Linked DNA regions of Homo sapiens: regions 2 and 3 are each linked to region 1. The links are contacts of gene promoters, found by promoter capture Hi-C in blood cells and fetal thymus (Javierre and others, 2016). All regions are on one chromosome and are shown on one strand. Each heading gives the region's core, a stretch centred on a gene start or on the middle of the fragment in contact. The rest is flanking DNA. Distances are from core to core; before and after follow the strand shown. Region 1 holds the start of LSMEM1 (leucine rich single-pass membrane protein 1). Region 2 overlaps LOC105375448 (a long non-coding RNA gene). Region 3 has its middle 19 kb from the start of DNAJB9.

Region 1 (4,331 bases), core at 6-2,505:
CTTTGAAAGAAAATGTCTTCTTTAGAGTGAAGTCACAATGTAAATATATGCTATTCCAATATTTTTTTAATGAGCTGCAACACGCAAATGGAAAAATAAAGAACTAGCAGAGAAAACTGAGTTGGGTGCTGTTCCAGGGCTCCAAGAGCCTGCAAATGACTTGCAAATGACTCATGAGGCTGCTAGTAAAGGGATACAAGATCACATGGCCTTAAAACCAGGCCCCACGGCTGTTTGACACCCAGTAGTTGCTATCTTTGGCATCTCCAAATGAGGGCATCTAGGAACAACCAGCAAGGCTGGAGAAGCCAGTGTTACTAGCAATTCTTCATCACACTAACTTGACCCTCCTTTCAACTCCAGTGTGCAAATTTGCTTATTCACCAAGATTGGCTAAAGCAGCATCCCTTTAACAGAACCCTTTCTTATACCTTGACTGGAAACATGTAAGTAATTTCATTTTCCTCTGGTTTAGATCACTGCTAACAGTTGATTTTTTGTCATTTAAGAATTCTTTGACTATTTACAAATAAATATTCCAACAAATAAAGATAATTGTCTATGAAAAATTGCCTGGTGCTTTATTTTTTAACCAGGCAGGTGCTTGGTATCAAACCACAGAAATAACTCACACCAGTATTGCTTGCCACAAAATCAGAATTGTTATAATAGGGCATAATTCAAAGCTAATAAGCAGTGTTATTGAATGAGTCATGGTAATTTGTTCTTTAATTTCATTTCCCAGTCAATGCCTCTTCACATTCAGGAAGTAATTTTTAAAATCAAGTCTAAATCATTTCTATCAAAAATGAAAAACACAGAGCACATGCAACAAAAACTTCCCAGACTCGAGAATCATAATTCAGTCTCAGTAGAGTAATAGCATGCAAATTACTTACAAAAATGTGAGCTTTGACTGCTAGGTTACCAGAAAAACAAAACAAAACAAAACAAACAAACAAAAACTAATTGTTCAGAAGCAACTACAACAAAACTTTTCTACAAATTCTGTAGTTCTCTCTTTGCCTTTCTTCAGCATACGGGTGCTCCTATGAGACCCATAAGCCCCAGGATGAAACTGTTGGTCTATATTGTGTCAATTTAGCCAAGCAGTGTAAGATTCCAAATCCTGACTTTTTTCATAATGTCTAAGGTTTTTAGTAAATATATTACTAAAACTATGCTTTAAAAAGAAAACAACAAAAAAACACCATGCCCTGATTTAGTTGGTAACTGATGAGGTTTTTATTGGACTGAAGTTACCGTCCTTATCTGGCTGAAGCAACTGTTAGCTGACACCACCTTTCCAGCACTCCTGCCATGGTATGCTTCCATATATAAATATCCTGTAGCAGGCGGAAGCTGCCACTATGATGACTGACTTGCAAACACTCCAGACAAACCAGAGAACTGCAATAAACACGGACAGAATATGATTATGACATCATAACAAGGATGATGGCAGGTCAGACGCCTAGTGCTTCCAGTAGCTACAAAAAGCGATTGTGAGTGGGCGATTTCATGGATACAGACCCACCACAGGTGAAGGAAGCACTCCATCTCATCGGCCGCCTTTCCTTTACAAAGGCTTTGTTCTGTGAGTGTCTGCACATCCTCCTTTCTCAGGAATAACAGCCTTCCATATATGTGGTTCCCTCACATACATGCCAAGGAGCTTCTGCCCTCTGCTGTACATAAAAGATGCTACAGTGATGAGGAGACCAACTATCTCAGCAGGATACTAACAGTGAGGTTGTGAACAACTGTGCAATCCTTTATCATCCTCACTTCCATTGCCATAGCTTGATGGACATTATTCATCTTTGAAACATTTTTCATGTCAGTGAGAAAATAGGTGTTCCACAAAATTTTCTTTGAGACAGAGTCTTGCTGTGTTGCCCAGGCTGGAGCGCAGTGGCATGATCCCAGCCTACTGAGACCTTCCTGCTTCCAGATTCTCCTGCCTCAGCCTCCCAAGTAGCTGGGATTACAGGTATGTGCCACCATAGCTGGCTAATTTCTTTATTTTTAGTAGAGATGGGGTTTCACCATGTTGGTCAGGCTAGTCTTGAACTCCTGACCTCAAGTGATCCACCCACCTCGGCCTCCCAAAGTGCTGGGATTACAAACTTGAGCCACCATGCCCGGCCCAAAATTTTCTTTACACCTATATCCCATACGGACCTCACTCTGCTTTGGGGGAAGAGGAATGTCATTTTTTTTTTCCCTTCACACTACCTAGTCTAAGAGGGAATGTCATTTTTTCAAGCCTCATCTGTACCCAAAGACTAATTCTTGGAGGAAGACAATATAACTAGTAACTTTTCTCAGAAACATACGTTAAAAAGCTATGTCAAATTTCTCTGAATAATGAAAATGTTCATGTTAGCTATTATGCTGTTTTTAAGAAATCTCCCAACTACCTGATCTGCCTTGAGCCATGTATCCTTTGAAGATATAATAGAAGTAACTGCCTCATTTTGGGGCGTTTACTACTTTTCCTCTCCTGTAACTTCTAACTTTGTGGAATATTAACTTCCCCTGAAGGAGGAAGGAAATGGAGACTAAGGAATTTAATTGTTGAGGGATACACTGATTATAAGTGGCAGAGATGAGATGTAAACCCATACCTCGCATTCAAGTCTGAATTGAACTATACACCAGTGAGGGGGATAAGACTGCCTTTAGACCAGTTAGACTTCTGGAAAGCCACTTAAGAACAAAGCAAGACAACCTACTTCATTTTAACTATAACATACCTGCAAGACCACCTTTAAGAAGAGTTTTGGGGCCGAGTGCGGTGGCTCATGCCTGTATTCCCAGCACTTTGGGAGGCCGAGACAGGCAGATTAACTGAGGTCGGAAGTTCGAGACCAGCCTGACCAACAAGGAGAAACCCCATCTCTACTAAAAATACAAAATTAGCCGGGTGTGGTGGCACATGCATGTAATCCCAGCAACTCAGGAGGCTGAGGCAGATTATACCATTGGACTCCAGCCTGGGCAACAAAAACGAAACTTCATCTCAAAAGAAAAAAAAAGAGTTTTGGGTCACAAAAAGAGATATTCTCACATGAAGTGTCTAATCTAGGGACATTCTCAAGTATTTGCTTTTTCTTTCATATATTACATCTCAGGGTATCTAAATTCACTCCCAGGAAATTTAGTACCCATCAAAGAGGAGTCACAGACAATGAATACTTCAAAATGCTTGAGCCTCAAAATAATGAAAGCGGGCAAAATTAATCAAGAATCAAGCAATGAACAACTAGTCTATAACACAACATTTTTCTACTTTCAAGAAAACACAAGCATTCTTACACATTGAACACCCAGCCACCCTTGTCTAGCAGTTACCACAAGTTTCATGAATAAAGTCACCTGCATATAAATTCAACATGCAGATTAACACTCTATACCTTCTTCCTCCCAAAAGCCCAGTAAAAAAGCAGGAGTACAAATTACAAAACCAGAAAAATTAAAATAGGAAGAAACAATACTGAAGAGCTCAATAAATGTATTGAACATGGTAAGAAGAGTGGTATCTGCCTTAGCAGGGCTATCACAGATGAGTGACAGTAGGACTGATCCTGCAGAATTCAGGCAGGCCTAGGATTTAGAGGCAAGAGTGTGGCATGGAGCTACACAGAGGCAAGTAATTTAATGCTAGCCAAAAACAAAATGCAATACAAATTGGAAAATTGTCTTAGAGAAATATCCCAGACAGAAAAAAAAAAAATAAATAAGGCCCAAGATTCAATTTGGGAGCTCCACTATGTCATAGAGTTCCAGAACAAAGAAAATGAGGAGGAAGAGAAGAGATGAAGAACTTAATATTTTCCAGGTTGCCAATCCCACCAAAGCACAGTATCATGCAATTTTAGAACACTAGAAACAGAGATGCTGAGAAAACAAAGAAATAAAAATAAAAACTGCATCAGATATCTCAAGATTTTGCAAATTAGAATAGAGCAATGCCTTCAAAATTCTGAATTTGAATACACTTGTCAAAATTTTCAAAAATTCCAAATTTGATTTTCCACCTAGAATTTCCATGCAAACTATCTTTCAGAAATATGAAGTCACTAAATAACTGACTGATCTCTCACGCACTCATTCCCAAGAAACTACTGAAAGAAGTGCTCCATGTTAACAAAGAAGTAAATTAAGACATGGGATCCAGAAAATGAGGGATACAATTCAAGAGAAAGAAAAACAAATCCTCACGATAGTGCTGTCTCAGGAAAACTGCTATACAATTGGATGAGAGAAACTAGTCTAGATTGAAACAAGTACAGAATCAAGAAAAGTTGTGACAAATTTATTTGGGA
Region 2 (4,610 bases), core at 1,275-3,774, 3.9 Mb after region 1:
CTTCAAATTACCTTCTGCACCCAAAAAAGCAGAGTTCATTTTTATTGGCTTATTTAACCATAAGCTTCACTCAAAAAAATTGGAGTTTAATAATTATGAGGTTAATACTTCATTTTGCTTAAGAGAATGAAGTTTATTAATCAATAAAAACATTTTTTTAGCCACACTTTGCTGGCTTGCACATTTTGATACCTTTTTTTTAATCACTGCATTTGCAGTTTAAAACAGGCTAACACTTACTCCTTTTTCATATCTACAAATGAGATCAACACAAACATGGTTTGCTCCAATGAAGATTTAAGGCACCTCTAAAAACATCCAAACAATAGAACAAGGTAAATGTATTTGTTTGCTAGGGCTACCTGTTAGTCTGCTAGGGCCAACACAAAATACCACAGTCTAGGTGGATTAAATAACAGAAATTTATCTTCACACAGTTCTGGAGGCTGAAAGTCCAAGGTCAAAGTGCCATTGGGACTGTTTTCTAGTGAGGACTCTCTTCCTAGCTTGTAGACGGCTGCCTTCCTACTGTGTCCTCACTTGGCTTCTTCTCTACATGGAAAGAGGGAGCTCTCTTGGTGTTTCTTCCTTTTCTTATTATGTCACCAGTCCTATCAGATTAGGGACCCACCTGTCTTAATTACCTCCCTAAAGTCCCTATCCCCAAATACAGTCTACACTGGAGGTTAGGGTTTCAATATATGAATTTTGGGGGAACATAATTTAGTCCATAACAGACTGCCATAATAACATACCATAGACTGAGAGGCTCAAACAAGACAAATTTATTTTCTCACAATTTCAGAGGCTGTAAGTCCAAGACAAAGGTGCCTTTGGGGTTGATTTCCAGTGAGGCCTCTCTTTCTGCCTTATAGATGGCTGCCTTCTCCCTGTGTCCTCACATGGTCTTTTTTCTGTGTATCTGTTTCCTAATCTCTCCTTATAAGACACCACCAGTCATATTGGATTAGAGCCTGCCCTAATGACCTCACTTTAACTTCACTACCTCTTTAAAGATCCTATGTCCAAATACAGTCACATTCTGAAATACCAGGGGTTATGACTTTGACATATGAATCTTAAAGGGATACAATTCAGCATACACCAGTAAAACGGTAAGTCAAGAAATTGGGCAAATGGACTGGGGGCGGTGGCTCACGTCTATAATCCCAACACCTGGGGAGGCCGAGGGAGGCAGATCACCTGAGATCAGGAGTTCAAGACTAGCCTGGCCAACATGGTGAAACCCCGTCTATGCTAAAAATACAAAAATTAGCCGGGCATGGTAGCAGGTGCGTGTAATCCCAGCTACCCAGGAGGCTGAGGCAGGAGAATCACTGGAACCTGGGAGGCAGAAGCTGCAGTGAGCCAAGATCACGCCAATGCACTCCAACCTGGTTGACAGAGTAAGGCTCCATCTCAAAAAAAAAGAAAAGAAAAGAAAGAAACTGGGCAAATGGTAAGGATAGGAGAGATGTTAAGACAATAAAGGGTGATGATATATTTACTAGGACTGGGTCACAACTCTGGCTCAGAGGCTCATAGCTGCCAATGCACAGAGGGAAATTTGATCAGTCACAAGACTCACCCTACGTTGAGTTTGGATTTAAACAATGGTCTTCCAGAGGCAGTATGCTTTTGTTGTCTAAAAAAAGTAGTAACTCTACTTCTAAGAGACTTTGGCCAGAGAGGAAAAAAGAAGAGCACAATGGCAGCCCAGTGAGAAATGTATTCTGATGTAATCATAATCTTATGTATTCCTTAAAAGCACAGTAATTGGGGCAACCATCTATGCCTCAAGATTCTGGGGAGACAAATAGTGTCCCCAAAGAAATGAATGTTTTGTAAGTAACATGTAGCATAGTTATATATGTTTACACGGAGAATTTTCCAAAATTATCCACTGTGGTCACTTTAAACACTCTCCTAAAATTAACTGCAGTTCTAATTTCTCAATCAAATCACAAAAGTCATAAGGAATTCTTAGGTCTATATAGGCTCCTCATAGTCTTCAGCATGTCTGTGTCTCTCCACGACCACTCCAGCTCAATGCGCCAAAGATGATGCATGTCCAGGTGCTGGAGCACAAAATATAACATAAGACCCCATGTCCCCATGTCCTGCAGGCCACACAGATTACCTTTAAGGGGGAACTGGATATTTGGAAGCGAGTAGACAGGAAGATATAGTCCCAGATAAATGGTAGAGGCTGGGGATATCTCATTGGCCCTTCTAGTCTCATTCACAGATCAAGTCTATCCTCCAAACTAAAGGGAATTATCTAGTTAGATTTTTTCTGCCACAGACAGAGAGTCTAGTGTAGTGCTAAAGGTGCATGAGCTCTGGAGATCCTCTGCCTGGGTTTGAATCCCTGAATCACCATTTATTCAATGTGTGACCTTGGGAAGGTCGTTAAGCTCTCTGTAACTTGGATTCTTCATCTGCTGAAAGTGGGGGGACAATTGCACCTATTGAGGGGGCCTGTTCTGAGGATTTATTTACTTAAATATGTAAAGTGTTCACAAAAGTGCCCAGCACATAGTAAACGTGATTGTTATTAAATAGTTCTTTACAATCTGAAAATTACACTTTAGGATAAACAAGTTTCTATAAAATCATTTGACTAGAAATGATAGTTGGAGTTAGAACAGTTTCAGCTACATTTTGCATATTCACAAACCTCAAAATGCATTGTATATTGTGGGCATGGTTCATTTATTCAGATATGTAACGAGGATCTCATTGCATTTGTAAAGAGACATGAAATCCTTTATCAAGGTTTCATAATGAGACACCTCTGCGTTTAAAACCACAGAAGGGACTTCTCACCTTTCTGAGCTGTTGTAATCCCTTGCAACTCAAATTTTTTCTGTCTGCTTTTACTCCAGGTCCAGGCTTGACACATGTTTTTCTCCATCTGAGTATCTTTATTTAAGATTACTTTCCCCAGATGTGTTTGTGTTCCCTTTTCTCAGCTGAATATGGTTAATCTTTTTTTTTTTTTTCTCAAATATCTGAGCTCCATTAAGCCTTTGTAAACTATCTTGGTCTGTGGTGTCGTCATCACCATCCTTCGGAGCTATACGGTAAGCCCTGCTGACACATCTTCTCCTGCCAAATCATTCAAGATCATTTCAATATTTACTCCCAAGGCTTTTCTGAGTCCTTTTCTTGCATCCCATATGTGTTTCACTAGAAAATGTCACTGGCCGACTGGTTCTATTCTTTTTTTCATTCTCGTTCATTCTCTCACTTATTCTGCCCCTTTTCTTGGTTCCTTTAAGAATTAAGAGAAACTTTGTTACTGAGAGTCCCCAGCTAAACTGGGGTTCCAGCACAAGGGCAGCTAGCAATCCTGCCCTAATGGGAAATGTAGGGAAGCTCTATGTGGATGTTTGCAGTGGGCCTTTCAGGGGATGCTTCTTTTACTTGGCTGATGGCCTAGTGCCTAGTAGTCTGATCAGTGACCAAAAGTGGGTAGAGAGATGGTCCCTCACATGGGAAACTTGTTTAAGCCAGCAGATGCCCTATGGCTTTTGTCTGACCTGCATCCAGCTTATACCTGCCCAACCATTGCCCTGGCACTGGGAGCCCAACCTTGAGCTCTCCCTGGCTTCCTGGAAGAAACCCAGCCTGGGGCAGCCCCTGGTTCTTCAGATGGAAGGTGCAAATCCAACATACCACCACCATAGGAAACAAGTTCCAAGATTTTTATTTACAGAGACTGAGTAGGGAGGGCACAATGAGTCAAGAACAGTCTTCATCCCTGGGTCACATCAGGCAAGAACAAAGAGTCAGGCAGAGAGAGACAGAGAGGGCAGCCAGCAGTATATATATACGAATAGGGTATGGGGCACTTTCAGTTCACAGGCAAATGCCTGACTGGTTCATTTAAAGGAACCAATGAGAAAGCAGGGAGCCCTGGTATGCAGAAGAGATGCCTCTAGGTTCTTATCTCTGGCCACGTCTGGGCCCATTTGGGTGTGGTGTAGAACCAGAAACTGTGTCAAGGGTGATCGAGCTCCGCTTCTGGTATAACAAACTTAAATTTGTATTCAAAATGGATGCCAAGACAACATAAAATTATAAGAATTCACTGCAATTACCCAAATCGGCTCTGTTCTTCCAAGATGGCTTTTCTCTTAGTGTACTCAGTATAAATGCATAATTACTATAGAACATATTCAAATGGAATAATTTGTTTTTTAAATTACAGCCATAGGCTCATCTGGTTTTGCATTCTTTCTCTTTTCCTTACTATCTAAGGTAATCAGATTTACTCTGCCGCGTATATTGACTCCCTGTTGTTCTTGTGAGATGTGTGACATCTGTTATTTTACGGTACTTAACTCATGTGCACTGACAGCCAGATACCTACTGGAAATAACAATTAAAGGCATAAATAACACACATCTGCATGTGTTCTGGCACTCGCCCACATATTAACACTGCTTACCACCTTACAGATTTACTTCTCTTCGGCAGCGTGATAAGCATTTGGTTTTAAAGAGTTTAGCTTTCCTTTCTGTGGAGATTTTGGCATATATTTTATATAATTGTCTATTTTTGTGAGTTGGGCATGTGTGGTTGTGTGTATACCCATGCGAGCG
Region 3 (4,578 bases), core at 1,055-3,554, 3.9 Mb after region 1:
CAAGAATCCTGGGACTAACACAATAATAGCAAAATTGGGCAGGCCTGGCCCTTAGTCCACATCTGTCATCATTGTTACTGATCCTCTTGCTGTTGCCCGCATTGCCATCAAGCACAGAACTTCCATCCATAGGACACTTTATGAGTTTCCTATTGCAGCTGTAACAATGTGCCACATACTTAGTGGACAAAAACAACACAGATTTATTACATTAGAGTTCCAAAGGTCAGAAGTCCACAGTGGGCCTCACTGGTCTAAAGTCAAGGTGTCAGGAAGGCCCATTTTCCTTTCTAGAGACCATGGGAGAGAATTCATTTTCTTACCTTTTCCAGCTTCGTGAAGCTGGCTGCATTCCCCAGTTAGTGGCCCCTTCCTCCATCTTCAAAGCCAGCAAGGGCAGCTCCAGTCTTTCTCAGGATGATGCCATCTCCCAGAGATTCTAATTCTTCCGTCTCCCTCCTTCCCATTTAAAAACCCTTGTGATTACACTGGGTCCACATGGATAATCCAGAATAATCTCCTTATTTTGAAGCCATCTGATTAACAAACTTAATTCCATCTGCCACCTTAATTCCCCCTTGCCAGGTAACCCAACATATTCGCAGGTTCTAGGAATTAGGACATGGACATCTTTGGGGGATGATGATTTGTCTGCTACAAGCTCTATGATAGAAACCTCACATGGCAATCCTCTTCTAGTGCTTTCCAATCTCTTTTTTTACATCAGGGAATACAGTAAAAATGAAAAAAAAATTTACAGCACACTGAGGCAACTGGATAACCCTGTTAGGCCATGGCACAATATTTTGGGAGCCCTATACCCTACACTGACCACAGGATTGGTCACAGGCATTACTACTGCTCTTAAGGCTGAGGCACTTAAGGAACAAATCACAGGCATGCATGTGCCATTTCTGTGGAATCCTCCAGGGCAGCTGAGTGGGAGGATAGCCCTGCCATTCATTAATCAGACACCCTGCGTTCTTCCAACCTCAGGGGTTTTTTCTCTCCTCCTGGGCAGCAGTTTCTATCTTGTGATCTAAACATTAGCTTCCCTTGTGCTTCTATCTTTCTCCTTCCTTCTCTGGGGGAACTCAGTGTAACTCCTTGTTGCCCTTGACACTTGATAAAATGTCCATGTGAGTGGCAAGTGCTAGAATTCAATTCAAATTGGCTTAAGTGAAAAGGAGACTTTTTTGTCTCATATAACTGAAGTGTTCAAGGAAAGATGGTTTCAGGCACAGCTGGACCTAGGGCTAAATGGCTCTGAAATCCTCTATGAAGCTCTTTTCAGGTCCCATAAAGTAGCCATTGGTGATATCAGGTTCACATCAGTCTTTTCTGTTAGCAGTCCCAGCTGAAACATACTTTATAGATTGTCAAACATGAATTCATAGAGATTTCTTTTGACCTCCTATATGACCAATTTGAAAATATTCTAGAAGTGGAGGAAAAGACAGAATTGTTTTGTTTGTAACTAACAAATAGGGGAAATTTTCAGTATACCATTTATTATGGCTTGAAAATGAAATTTCAATTGCATGTCACTGTGCCAATACAAGCAGCTCAGAGGAATTGAGACAGGGAGGAGTTGCTCTTTTAAAGGTCCTCAGCTGGGCATGATGGCTCATGCCTGTAATCCCAGCACTCTGGGAGGTGGAGATGCAAGGGTTACTTGAGGCCAGGAATTCAAGACCAGCCTGGGCAACATAGTGAGACTCTGTCTCTACAAAAAAAAAAAAAAAAAGAACATAAAAATTAAAAAATTAGCCAAGTGTGGTGGCATATGCCTTGCAGTCCAGGCTGAGGCTGGAGGATGGCTTGAACCCAGGAGTTCAAGATTGCAGTGAGCTATGATCGTGATCATGCCACTGCCTGGCTGACCCTGTCTCTTAAAAAAAAAAAAAAGATAAATAAAAGTCCTTAAAAAATAAACTCACACAGAAGATGTCTACATAAAAAGAGTTCACACTTGATTTTAACTTTCTAACAAGGTAAAAGTCTTCTTTCTTTTAAGTTCCCCTCTGATCTCATAACTGAGGGGATGTGACCTAGTTTTCTAAGTATCTCAAGATCCACCAGTATTGATATATAAACTGATTTTGTTTCCTTCCAATAATAATTCCTTATAAGATAGTATCTCTGACAGTTTGGACAATGGCATTTGAACAGAAAATTATTTTCTCACACTAAAATATCTGGAAGAAAAATAATGATAGAAAAGTTATAGAAAAAGAGATGTTATCATTTGGGATTAAAAAAACATATTGTGAGGTGGGCACGGTGGCTCACGCCTGTAATCCCAGCACTTTGGGAGGCCAAGGCGGGTGGATCACCTGAGGCCAGGAGTTCGAGACCAGCCTGGCCAACATGGTGAAACCCTGTCTCTACTAAAAACACAAAAATTACCCAGGTGTGGTGGTGCACACCTGTAATCCCAGCTACTCAGGAGGCTGAGGCGGGAGAATCACTTGAACCCAGGAGGTGGAGGTTGCAGTGAGCCAAGATCACATCATTGCATTCCAGCCTGGGCTATAGTGCGAGACTCCATCTCAAAAAAAAAAAAAAAAAAAAATTTAAAAAAAAATTTAAAAAAAATTTGTGGATGACTAAACCTGTATCCCAATATCTTTATTAACAGATATCATTTATTTGGTATAAGGAAGATGTCCCAATGCAGATGAGTCTAGTTTATCATATAAGTAAAGGATTTTGTAACTTTTCAGAAAATCAAATTATGAGATATACACATATGACGTCGAATTTACTTATTCACTAAATAGTTATGGAAAATTTACCCTATACCAGTCACAGATATAGGCACTTGAGACACAGCAGTGGAAGATCCCTACCTCCAAGTAGCTTATATTCTATCAGGAGGAAACAGATAATAACATAATAAGTAATGAAATAAGGTGATAAGTGCTGTGTGAAAATAAAAACAGAGTAAGATAAAGGGATGGAGAGTGTGAGGGAGGAGGGACACAGTGTGGTATTAAATAGGGTGGCCAGAAAGGCCCCATTGAAGAGGTGACAGGTGAGCCAAGACTGGAAGAAGCTGAAGGGATTGGCTGTATAATCAAGAATGCTCCAAACAGAGGAACCAGCTAGTGCAAAGGCCCTAAAGAGAAAGCAAGCCTGGCGTGTTCCTGGAAGAGTGAGGATTCCTGTCTGGCTAGTACAGAATGAAGAAGGGTGTGATGGTTAATATTGAGTGTCAACTTGACTGGATTAAAGGATGCAAAGTATTGTTCCTGGATGTTCTGTGAGGGTGTTGCCAAAGGAGATTAACATTTGAGTCAGTGGACTGGGAGAGGCAGACCCATCCTCAATCTGGGTGGGCACCATCTAATCAGCTGCCAGTGCAGCTAGAATAAAGCAGGCAGGAGAAGACAGAAGAGTAGACTTGCTGAGTCTTCTGGCCTTCATCTTTCTCCTGTGCTGGATGCTTCCTGCCCTGGAACATAAGACTCCAAGTTCTTGAGCTTTAAGAGTCTTGGACTTATACCAGTGGTTTGCCAGGGGTTCTCGAGCCTTTGGCCACAGATTGATCCACCACTGGCTTCCTTGCTCCTCACCTTGCAGACAGACTATCATGGGACTTCACCTTGTGATCATGTGAGTCAATTCTCCTTAATAATCCCCTTATTTATAATATATACCCTATTAGTTCTGTTGCTCTAGAGAACCCTGGCTAATACAAAGGGGAAAAGCAGTCAAAGATAAAATCAGTGAGGTAAAGGGAAGGTAAGCTGATTGTGTAGGACTTCATAGACTATTGTAAATGATTTAGCTCTTACTGGGAATGGGGAGGGAGTAAATGGAAGGCTTTAGGCAGAAAGATAACAAGTTCTTATGTACCTTTAAAAAGAATAACTCTCATTGTTGGCTTGATAACAGACTAATAAGGGGTAGAGAATGAAAACTTTCTTTTACCTAATAATCCCTATGAAAGATGATGCTGGTACTAACATTGGAGTTGAAAGGAAGCTGTCAGATACTGAAAATACATTGAAGGCAAAGCCAGTGGGATTGCCTATGGAGTGTGAGTGCTAAGAGCATGAAAGAAATCAAGAATCACTCTGGGGTTTTAACCTAAACAACTGGAAGGATGGCTTTACAATCAGCTGAGCTGGAGCAGGTCAGAGTTGGAATATCCACAATACCACATTAGACATGTTAAGTGGACAGTTGGATATATGAATCTGCAGTTTTTAATATATGAATCTTGGCTAGAGATAAAAATTTGGAAGTGGCAGGCATGTTGATGGTTAAAACTATGGGATGAAAGAGTTCACCAAAGGAACGAGTATAACCAGGAGTAGAAGAGAATGGAAGTGATGAAAGGAGAAGAGGAAGGAAAGGAAAGGAAAGGAAAGGAAAGGGAATGGGGACGGGGAAGGGGAAGAGACTCAAAAAGGAGAAGAGGGAAAAGGAGGAGATAAGAAAGAACTGGAGGGGAGAGAGGACAGAAAGAATCAGAACTGAGAAGATGCAAAGGAGAGGAAGAGGAATCAACAAAAGACACCGAGAAAAAGCAACCAATGGAGGAAAGAAAAACCCAGAGATCAGTGTTCT

What was found. The method cuts DNA at HindIII sites, captures the fragments that hold promoters and counts their contacts. A CHiCAGO score of 5 or more calls a contact.
Region 2: a contact is called between a fragment that was not itself captured here and the fragment with the promoter of LSMEM1 in region 1, in 4 of 17 cell types (total CD8 T cells, naive CD8 T cells, activated CD4 T cells and 1 more). The highest score is 7.8, in total CD8 T cells.
Region 3: a contact is called between a fragment that was not itself captured here and the fragment with the promoter of LSMEM1 in region 1, in 4 of 17 cell types (total CD4 T cells, naive CD4 T cells, total CD8 T cells and 1 more). The highest score is 8.5, in total CD4 T cells.

The regions. Positions count from the first base shown.
Region 1 is chr7:112,477,915-112,482,245 of GRCh38, reverse strand. It overlaps LSMEM1 (leucine rich single-pass membrane protein 1), which reads right to left and starts at 1,255. Exons shown (of 4, transcript NM_182597.3): 1 at 900-1,255. The HindIII fragment of the contact is 7,612 bases long and covers 1-4,331 here.
Region 2 is chr7:108,604,206-108,608,815 of GRCh38, reverse strand. The region is part of intron 3 of LOC105375448 (a long non-coding RNA gene); the gene reads right to left. Among named protein-coding and RNA genes, the nearest start is that of DNAJB9, 37 kb to the right of the region's middle. The HindIII fragment of the contact is 4,915 bases long and covers 67-4,610 here.
Region 3 is chr7:108,586,441-108,591,018 of GRCh38, reverse strand. No RefSeq gene overlaps it. Among named protein-coding and RNA genes, the nearest start is that of DNAJB9, 19 kb to the right of the region's middle. The HindIII fragment of the contact is 6,518 bases long and covers 1-4,578 here.